2 separate regions of the Homo sapiens genome follow, and region 2 is linked to region 1. The links are contacts of gene promoters, found by promoter capture Hi-C in human tissues and cell types (Jung and others, 2019). All regions are on one chromosome and are shown on one strand. Each heading gives the region's core, a stretch centred on a gene start or on the middle of the fragment in contact. The rest is flanking DNA. Distances are from core to core; before and after follow the strand shown. Region 1 holds the start of SPACA7 (sperm acrosome associated 7). Region 2 has its middle 38 kb from the start of LINC01070.

Region 1 (4,268 bases), core at 607-3,106:
AGTCCTTCAATGTTCCCAGGCTAACATTTCCAGTCTTTCTTCTGCCCTCCTGACTGGGTGTTAGTGAGAACTAAAGCCTGACAACTCAGGCCTTCCGTGGGACCATCTGGAAAGGCTGAAGCTGGACACATCCACGCTCTGCCCCCAGCATAACCATGACTGTGGCTCTGATGGTCATGATGTCACCAAGGACACACCCCCTGCAAACTAGGAAATCCATCCTTGCCCCATCGGCTGAAGATACCTTGAGCCCAAAATCCAGAAATCTTCTCAACAGACTGCCCTCTGGATTCGGAAACTGTGTTTCCAACTATAAATCTTTGTTTTTCTTCTCTTTTTCGTAGACATTCCCCTCATTAAATTCCCGACTACTTGTACCATCCAGCACACATCCTCCACCAGATGAAACATGGACTTATCTTGTTCAAAGAGAAAAGGAATGTCTCTTCTTTCTTGAACAAGAGGAGGGAATGAGAAAGCCTCGCTCCTTGACTTACCTCATGCCAGGCTCCTCTGAGTCTTCTCTTTGACTAGGCCTTGACCCTAGCTTCTGCTTTTGTCTGCTTTTCCCCATGTTTAGTAGGAATCCTGTGAAGTCTTTTAGTGGAAATCCCCTAGTCTTGGCCTGGTCACCCTTGATATCTGATCAAATTCCTCACCCTCCATCTTTGATTATTTTATTGCCTTGGCTTCCTTTCAGGTCTGGCCTCCTGTTTGGCCGAACACAATATACACAATAATTGAACTAGAGGGTGAATACATGGAGGTTCATGATATTCTTCCAAGTTAGAAATTTTCCATAATAAAAAGTTAAAATAAGTAACATATGCAACTCTCTCATGGATGTCTAGATTTTAAAAGGTCTTCAAAGATAGCAGACCTTTGTGTCCTGTTGCAAGGATAATCAATTTTTATTAAACTTATGCAAACAATTGTATGGTCCTGAAAATCATAATATCCAAATTCTAGAGTAATCAGGTGGGACAAAAAATATAAATGCTTCATTTTTGTTTATAAAAGCCCTCTTGGCCTTTGCTGAATCAGTTTAGCAAAGAATTCTCCTACCTTTTAGCAATGTTCATCCACTGACCCACCCTGATCCTTGGCTGCAAATCTCCACTTTCCCTGTATTTGGAGTTGAGCCCACTCTCCACTATTATGAGACACCATGGTAGTAGCCCCCTTTGAATAAAGGCTGCCTGCCCATCTTTAGCAAGCATCACAAATATTTTTTAACGGTATGAGCTGAGATAAAGGCTTTTGGTAATTATGTTAGTCTGATTATGACATTGTAGATAATGCTTTTATCTCTTCGCAAGAAAATGTTTTACATGAGGTGGTAAGGCATCTGGGATGGTGCTAAAATACTCCCCAAACAAGAAAAGTGTGTGTATGTGGTGTGGAGTGTGTATGTGTGTGTGTGTAGAAAAAAACAAAATATGCACAATAATTGAACCTGAGGGTGAATACACGAAGGTTCATGATATTCTTCCCAGTTAGAAATTTTCCATAATAAAAAGTTAAAATAAGTAACATTTGCAACTTTCCTATGGACATCTAGATTTTAAAAAGTCTTCAAAGATAGAAAGACTTTTCAGCTACATTCATTCCCCAAGGAATAAATGGTAAATTCATGTAGGTTGGGAATAAGAGGAACCCATGGGAGAAGAGGCCGCCGCTCCCCACCTGGTTCAGTTCTCTTTCTGCTGAGACATCCCTGTGGGGCCCTACCTGGAATCACGGTTCTCGGCCGGAGCTCAGTTTCTTGCCAACAGCACAGCAGGAGGACAAAGCAGAGGGTCCCGTCTCCTTGGCTCACTGCCATGCTCCCTCCAGCTGAGGGAGAAGGACGTTCTGAAGGTTGACAGTTTCCCATCCTTGGTCTCCAGGACACTGTGGAATGTCAGGACCTGTGACATCACAACCAGGAAGGGAGCTGGGGTCCTGCCCTGGTGGGGAGGTCATGTCCAGGGACCTGTGACATCAGGACCAGGAAGGGAGCTGGCATCTTGCCAGGGGCGGGGGGCAGGGTTTCTGTCCAGAGTCTGTGACTGGGAAGCAGGGAGGAGGCTCACTGGGGTCTTAAGGTAACAGAGATCCTCTCCACTCTTTCTTATTGCCTGTTCTGGTGACTTCCTCTGTCCTGAGCACCCTGAGGACTCAAGGGGTAGATACTAATCAGGACTTAAGGGCCAGTGGCCAAAAGCCAACAAAATCTGCTCCCATGGAAAGAGGCGTATTTGAAGGATGCTGGAGAGGTGGTTGAATTACAGAGCAAGTGCCAGAACCGACAGATCCAGAGGGTCTAATCACCTCTTAAAGGTCCCTTGAAGAACAGAGCCTTGAAGAACAGAGGCCCGTGGCCCCATGTCCCCTCCCACCCTCCCCCACCCTCAAAGTTCCAGGATCATGAAGAACAGGAGACAGATGACCCAGGTTTCAGCCTCCTTTCCCCCACACCTTCTTTCTCAGCATCAGCCCCAATCTTTCCCTGGCAGTGAGACTTTAATCACGAGAGGAGAACATGGCTGCATTTCCATGTTATCATCCTCCCAGCTCTATCTCCTAGACTTTCTAGAGCTTTCTCCATCCGTGCAGTGACAAAACCCCAAAGGAGTCACTCTGGTTGGCTCCCCTGGATCCTATCTCACCCCTGGACTGACTCCTACATCCAGGGCTCAGAGTGGGGCAGCTGGTCTAGACTCGGCCGGTGGTGGGGTCCCAGGTGAACAGCCCTCAGATCCCAGCTCCATGGTGGAGAGGGCTGGTGTGTTTGTCTGTTCCCACACTGCTATATAGAACTTCCCTGAGACTGGGTAATTTATAAAGAAAAGAGATTTAATTGACTCACAGTTCTGCATGGCTGGGGAGGCCTCAGGAAACTTACAATCATGACGGAAGGGGAAGCAGGCACCTTCTTCACAAGGCGGCAGGAGAGAGAGTACATGAAGGAGGAGCTGTTAAACACTTATAAAACCATCAGCTCTAGTGAGAACTCACTTATCATGAGAACAGCATGCAGGAATCCACTCCCATGATCAGATCGCCTCCCACCAAGTCCCTCCCTCAACACGTGGGATTATGAGGATTATAATTCAAGATGATGCTTGGGTGAGGACACAGAGCCAAACCATATCACTGGGGCCCTGGACGCACAAGACTAACAATGCCCCCGAGGTCTGGTCAGGACCCCAAGGATGGCTGACCCACCATGGGTCTCTGGCTCTTTAATTTTTATTGCTTGTATGGGAACCCACAGCACATTTTTGCTCAGGTTTTCCTTTTGATAGATGCAGTGGTAGCCAATCTACCTCAAGGTGTGGGGAGTATATTTCAGATTTTCAGCGTGTCCATAAAGGCACACTAAGCATGGTTGACATTTACAGAAACCCAGTGGGTTCCAAGTCCCACTCTGAGTTAATGAATGGTCCAAGTGAGATGCTTGCTTCTATAACCCAGGCTCTTGCTACTCAGAATGTCATTTTGGGGCCAGCAGCATGGGCCTAAGAGGCTGAATGTACAAACGGACAGCAGCCAGAGCTCCCATGACAGCAGAACCCTGCACTGCTGCCTGTCGAACGACACCCACTGCACCAAGGAGGGATGTCTGGCTAAGGCAGGCCAGGGACTTCCACCTCAAGGCGGAGGATGAGGAATTTGATCAGGGCTGGGGGCGAGGCCTCGTTGAGAAGAGGGGTCAGAGGAGCCTCGCTGATTTGGTCGAGGAAGGAGTCATTCTCAAGGCTGCCCGAAGCTCGGTGACTTGATACAGCCCATGTGTGATTGCTTACAACTTTGTGGGTTGGCTCTGGGGGCTGCTGGCCTAGTGTGGCCTCATGGACATGTCTGAGGCCTTAGCTAGGATGCTGGGGCTTGGGATGGCTGAGGCTTCCCTCCATGTGGTCTCTCGGCCTCTAGCAGGCAGCCTGGGCTTGGTCACAGCAGAAAGGAGAGTAAGCCTCGATGCAAACAAGCCTTTTCTTGCACCACATTTGCTAATGTCTCATCGGCCAAATGAGTCAAACTAATCCCAGATGCAGGAGTGGAGGAACAGATTTGAGCACTAAAATATGGTAGTCAGAGGCCGGGCGCGGTAGCTCACGCCTGTAATCCCAGCACTTTGGGAGGCCGAGGTGGGCGGATCACGAGGTCAGGAGATCAAGACCATCCTGGCTAACACGGTGAAACCCCGTCTCTACTAAAAATACAAAAAAATTAACTGGGTGGGCACCTGTAGTCCCAGCTACTCGGGAGGCTGAGGCAGGAGA
Region 2 (4,162 bases), core at 148-2,647, 140 kb after region 1:
TAGTAAACAATTATGAAATGTTACCTTTAAAATCAGAGATAAAATAAGGATGCCAGCTATCACCAACTCCACTCAATGTGCTGCTTAAAGTCCTACCTGGTGTATTCAGTCAAGAGAAGAAAGAAAAGATTTACGGGCTAATAAGGAAAAGAATTTTTAAACATACCGTCGGAATCTGCAGACAATGTGATTATCTACATAAAAAACCTAGCAGAATGCACAAATATTTATATTTCACAAGCGCTAAGCAAGGTTGCATAATCAAAATCAAGATCACAGTACAGAAGTCAACTGCATTTTTACTCACCAGCAAAATACAGGTAGAAAATACCACTTTCAAAGAAACCATTTGCAATAGCAGCAGCAACAACAAAATCATTAATTTGTGTGGTGATTGTTGATGTTCACTAAATATTTCCAGTTCTTTTGCCAAGCACACAGGGGATCACATGGGCCTTCCCCACTGAATTTAGTGTGGCCCCATGAGCAGAAGGGGTGCGTATTAAGAGGCAGTGAGCGGTTCTCAGCCTCCCGCTGCAGTGGCAGCAGGTTTGACGTGGGGCTGCCCCATCAGCCCCGGTCCTGGCTGGAGCAGCGTCACCAGGCAGCCTGTGTATTCAGAAGCAAAGATGCGTAGTGGGCATTTGTTGCTTGAGGTCACTGAGACTTGGCATTGTTTGTTACTGCAGTGAAATCTACCCTTATCCTCACTAGTCTAGAAATAGAAGAAAGATGCTAGGGTAAAAAATAATCCTCAAATACCTGGCATTGTCTTAGTAGTGAGTTGAAGACCGGCAACTGTTACTGAAGGCTGAGAAGATGCCATCTACATCGTGCTGAAGAAAGCATTTGGTGAAGGTCCTTCTGGAGGAGCCAGAGAGTCAGGTCACGTGTGTGTTATGTGTGTTGCTACCAGGTATTGGTTGGTGCACTGGTCTCCTAGCACTGTTGTAGCAAAAGTACCATACACTGGCTGGCTCCGAGAACAGACATGTATTCTCTCATAGTTCAGGAGGCCAGGGGTCCAAAATCAAGGTGTGGCCAGCAGCCCGCCCTGCCACAGAAGGACCTGGGGGAGCCCTTCTGTGTTTCTTCCTAGCTTCTGGAGGCTCCCAGAGGGACCTGGCCTCTCTCGGCTTGTGGCAGCCCCACTCCGGTCTCTGCCTCCTTCTTTACAAGGCCTTCTCCCTGTGAGTCCGTGCCTGTATCTTCATGTGGCATCTTCCCAGAGAGTCTCTGCGTCTCTTCTAATAAGAACTCCAGTGACTGGGTTTAGGCCCACCCTAATCCCATGTGGCTCATTTGGACTTGATTACATCTGCAAAGGTACTATTTCCAAAAAAAATCCCATTCGCGGATACTGGGAATTAGGGCTCGGTCATATCTTTTTGGGGACACAGTTCTAGCCACAGCAGTTGGCAGTGTCTGTACAACAAAGTATTACAAGAAAGGGATAAGCTTGTCAGTGGCAGGCAGGACTCAGAGGGGCAGAGAGCCCTCAAATTCAGGGACTCGTAGGATTGGAACAGACAGTTGCTTCTCCCTTGATAGCGTAAAAAGTAAACTTGGAAATGCTTTGAACTGCCACGACTGTTTGGATCTCAGCCTTTCAGGCAAGGCTGGTCAAGTGCTTGGTCCCTAGACTCATTGTTAACATCTCTTAATAGACTAGCACATGAGGGAACCCCAAAGGCTGCCTTGGTTAGAGACTCCTTTAGCAAGGACTAAGTGGCTCCCGGAAGAGGGCAAGGGTTTCAGCCTCCCAGCAGAGCCCATGATACCAATAGACAGGTCAGTCCTATCTGCTGAGGGCCACAGGAGTAAGGAAGCCAGGGAACGTGGCAAGTCTACTAGGAAGACCTACAGAGTCGCTGAGCATGCAGCTCTTGATGTGTGTGCTGTGTGGAACCAAACAGAGAAGCAGCTCACTAAGCTCTTGAAGACTTTACTGCCAAAGAACCACACACTGTGGCTAAGAGAGACTAAGATTTTAGGGAATGAAAGTGACCCTTGGCATCCACCATCTGTAAACAAGAAGGGGTCTGGGAGGGAGTGCATCTGATGCCCACAGTGAATGTGGCCATGGAGGCGAATGGAAAAGGGATGTGTTTGTTAGGCCACTCTTGCATGGCTATGAAGGAGGACCTGAGAATGAGTAATTGATAAAGAAAAGAGATTTAATTGGCTCACTGTTGGGCAGGCTGTGCACGCATGATGCCTGCATCTATTTGGTTTCTGGGAAGGCCTCAGGGAGCTACCAATCATGGCAGAAAGCAAAGTAGGAGCAGGTGCTTCATATGGCAGGAGTGGGAGCAAGAGAGGGAAGGGGGAGGTGCCACACACTTTAAACAGCCAGATCTCACGTGAACTCAGTCATCACCAAGGGAATGGTGCCAAGCCGTTCATCAGGGATCCACCCCATCGCCTCCGGCCAGGCCTCACCTCCAACACTGGTGATTACATTTCAACATGAGATTGAGAGGGGACAAATGTCCAAACCATGCCAAAGAAGAACCACCCAAGAGGAGGGGCCCAGTGCCTTGAAGGGCGACAAGCAGCAAGCCACCCCCAGGAGCAGGACCAGGACCTCATCAAGAGACAGCCCGGAGCGGGTCCACACCACATCTGCCTGGTTATTGTAGACCAGTGACTGTGGCCCGGCCTGTCCTCCTTGCTCCGAGTGGGGCCATTCATCATGGTTGCCTATATGGCCAACTGGATGTTAGGGGCACACATCCTACACTTGCTGGGTCACAGATCCCCGGGCTCTGAGGGGCTTGATCTGGGCCTGATGAAGAAGCTACCGGGCATTGCTCAAAGATCCTGGACTCAGCCCTGGATGCAGAGACAGGACACCACCCTGGGATATGGGGCTGGGCTGCACAGAGGAAGGGAGGGGACCCAGTGCTTGCTGGCCAGAAGTGTGGATCGCTAGGGCTTAGTGCTGCCAACCGAAACACCTCCCCTCTCCACACACACTGGCAGAGCAGGGGTAGCCCCGGGACGGGCGTCAGCCCAGGAAATGTGAGTGGAAGTGCATGTGTCACCTCCAGGCGGAAGTCTGAAGGCTCCTTTCCTTCTGGATAAAATTGCGACTAGCAATTGAGATGGTGTCTTCTCTGTCACTGTGGGTCACAAACTGAGTGGAGCCCACAGTTAAAGCAAGAGATAAACTTTTATCATTTTAAGAACTGAGCTCTGACACAGCAGTTACTACGGTGTGACTTAGCCTGGATTAAATAGCACAGTTCTCGGGAATAAACCGACAAGCAATGCGCGGCTACGGCAGAAAACTGCAGCACTCTGTTCAGTGACATTAAGAAAACCTAAATAAACATCCACCATTTGAAGACTCAGTATCACAATGGTGTCAGTGACGTCACTTGGCTCTATAGATGTAATGCATTTCTAATGAATACCTCAACACAGACATTTGAGGAGACTGACCAGGAGCAGGAAGAACCTAGATGTTTCTAAACAAGAAACATAATGGTGAGGGCTTGGAACAGCCCAGCCACACATCAAGACTTAGGTATTAGTCATGGTGCAATCAGAACCTCCGTGAATATTGTGAGATGAGGAATTTATTCAGTCAGTAAGACCGTGCACTTGTGGGGGAAACGGAGGCATTTGGGTTCAGAGCAGAAGCTGTAGATTCAGAGGAAAGTCACCAGTCAGCACCGCGGCAGCACCGGAGCAGGTGTGGAGGTCAGAGCTGGGAGGGGCTGGAAGCTGGAGCCACCAGCTGCAGAGCTGCACACCGAGGATTGCTGGGGGGCTCATGGGAGGTGAGGGTGCCTCGAGATCGTTCCCGGAGGTCCCAGCGCAGCGTCCGGTTGCCAGCCTGGGGCTGCTGTCAGCAGGGCCGACCCTGAGGAAGAGGACGCTGGGCAGAGCCGACACCTGAGGGTCTGTCCGGCACCACACCTGGCCAGTGGGCCTGTGGGGTGTCGGCCACTGCTCTGCCTTCCTAGTTCACCGCGACCTTGTACGGGGTGGGGGTTCTGGGAAATGCAGCCCCAGCTTAGCAGCCCCACCAATCAAATGCAGTGCAACAACCCCCAACTCAGTACGAAGTTAGAGTAGTTAAGACGGTGGGACACTTATGCACAGGGAGAAAAAGACAAAAGGGTGCAAACCCAGAAAGAGACCTGTGGACCTC

What was found. Contacts are between HindIII fragments. The study calls those that stand out against the background at their distance.
Region 2: a contact is called between a fragment that was not itself captured here and the fragment with the promoter of SPACA7 in region 1, in 2 of the 25 tissues and cell types used here (dorsolateral prefrontal cortex and spleen).

Annotation. Positions count from the first base shown.
Region 1 is chr13:112,373,943-112,378,210 of GRCh38, reverse strand. SPACA7 (sperm acrosome associated 7) reads right to left here and starts at 1,856. Exons shown (of 7, transcript NM_145248.5): 1 at 1,732-1,856. The coding sequence starts at 1,825. It overlaps LOC105370373 (a long non-coding RNA gene), which reads left to right and starts at 1,933. Exons shown (of 3, transcript XR_944295.3): 1 at 1,933-2,087. RefSeq lists an enhancer at 1-404. The HindIII fragment of the contact is 14,702 bases long and covers 1-4,268 here.
Region 2 is chr13:112,233,132-112,237,293 of GRCh38, reverse strand. No RefSeq gene overlaps it. Among named protein-coding and RNA genes, the nearest start is that of LINC01070, 38 kb to the right of the region's middle. The HindIII fragment of the contact is 3,897 bases long and covers 1-3,345 here.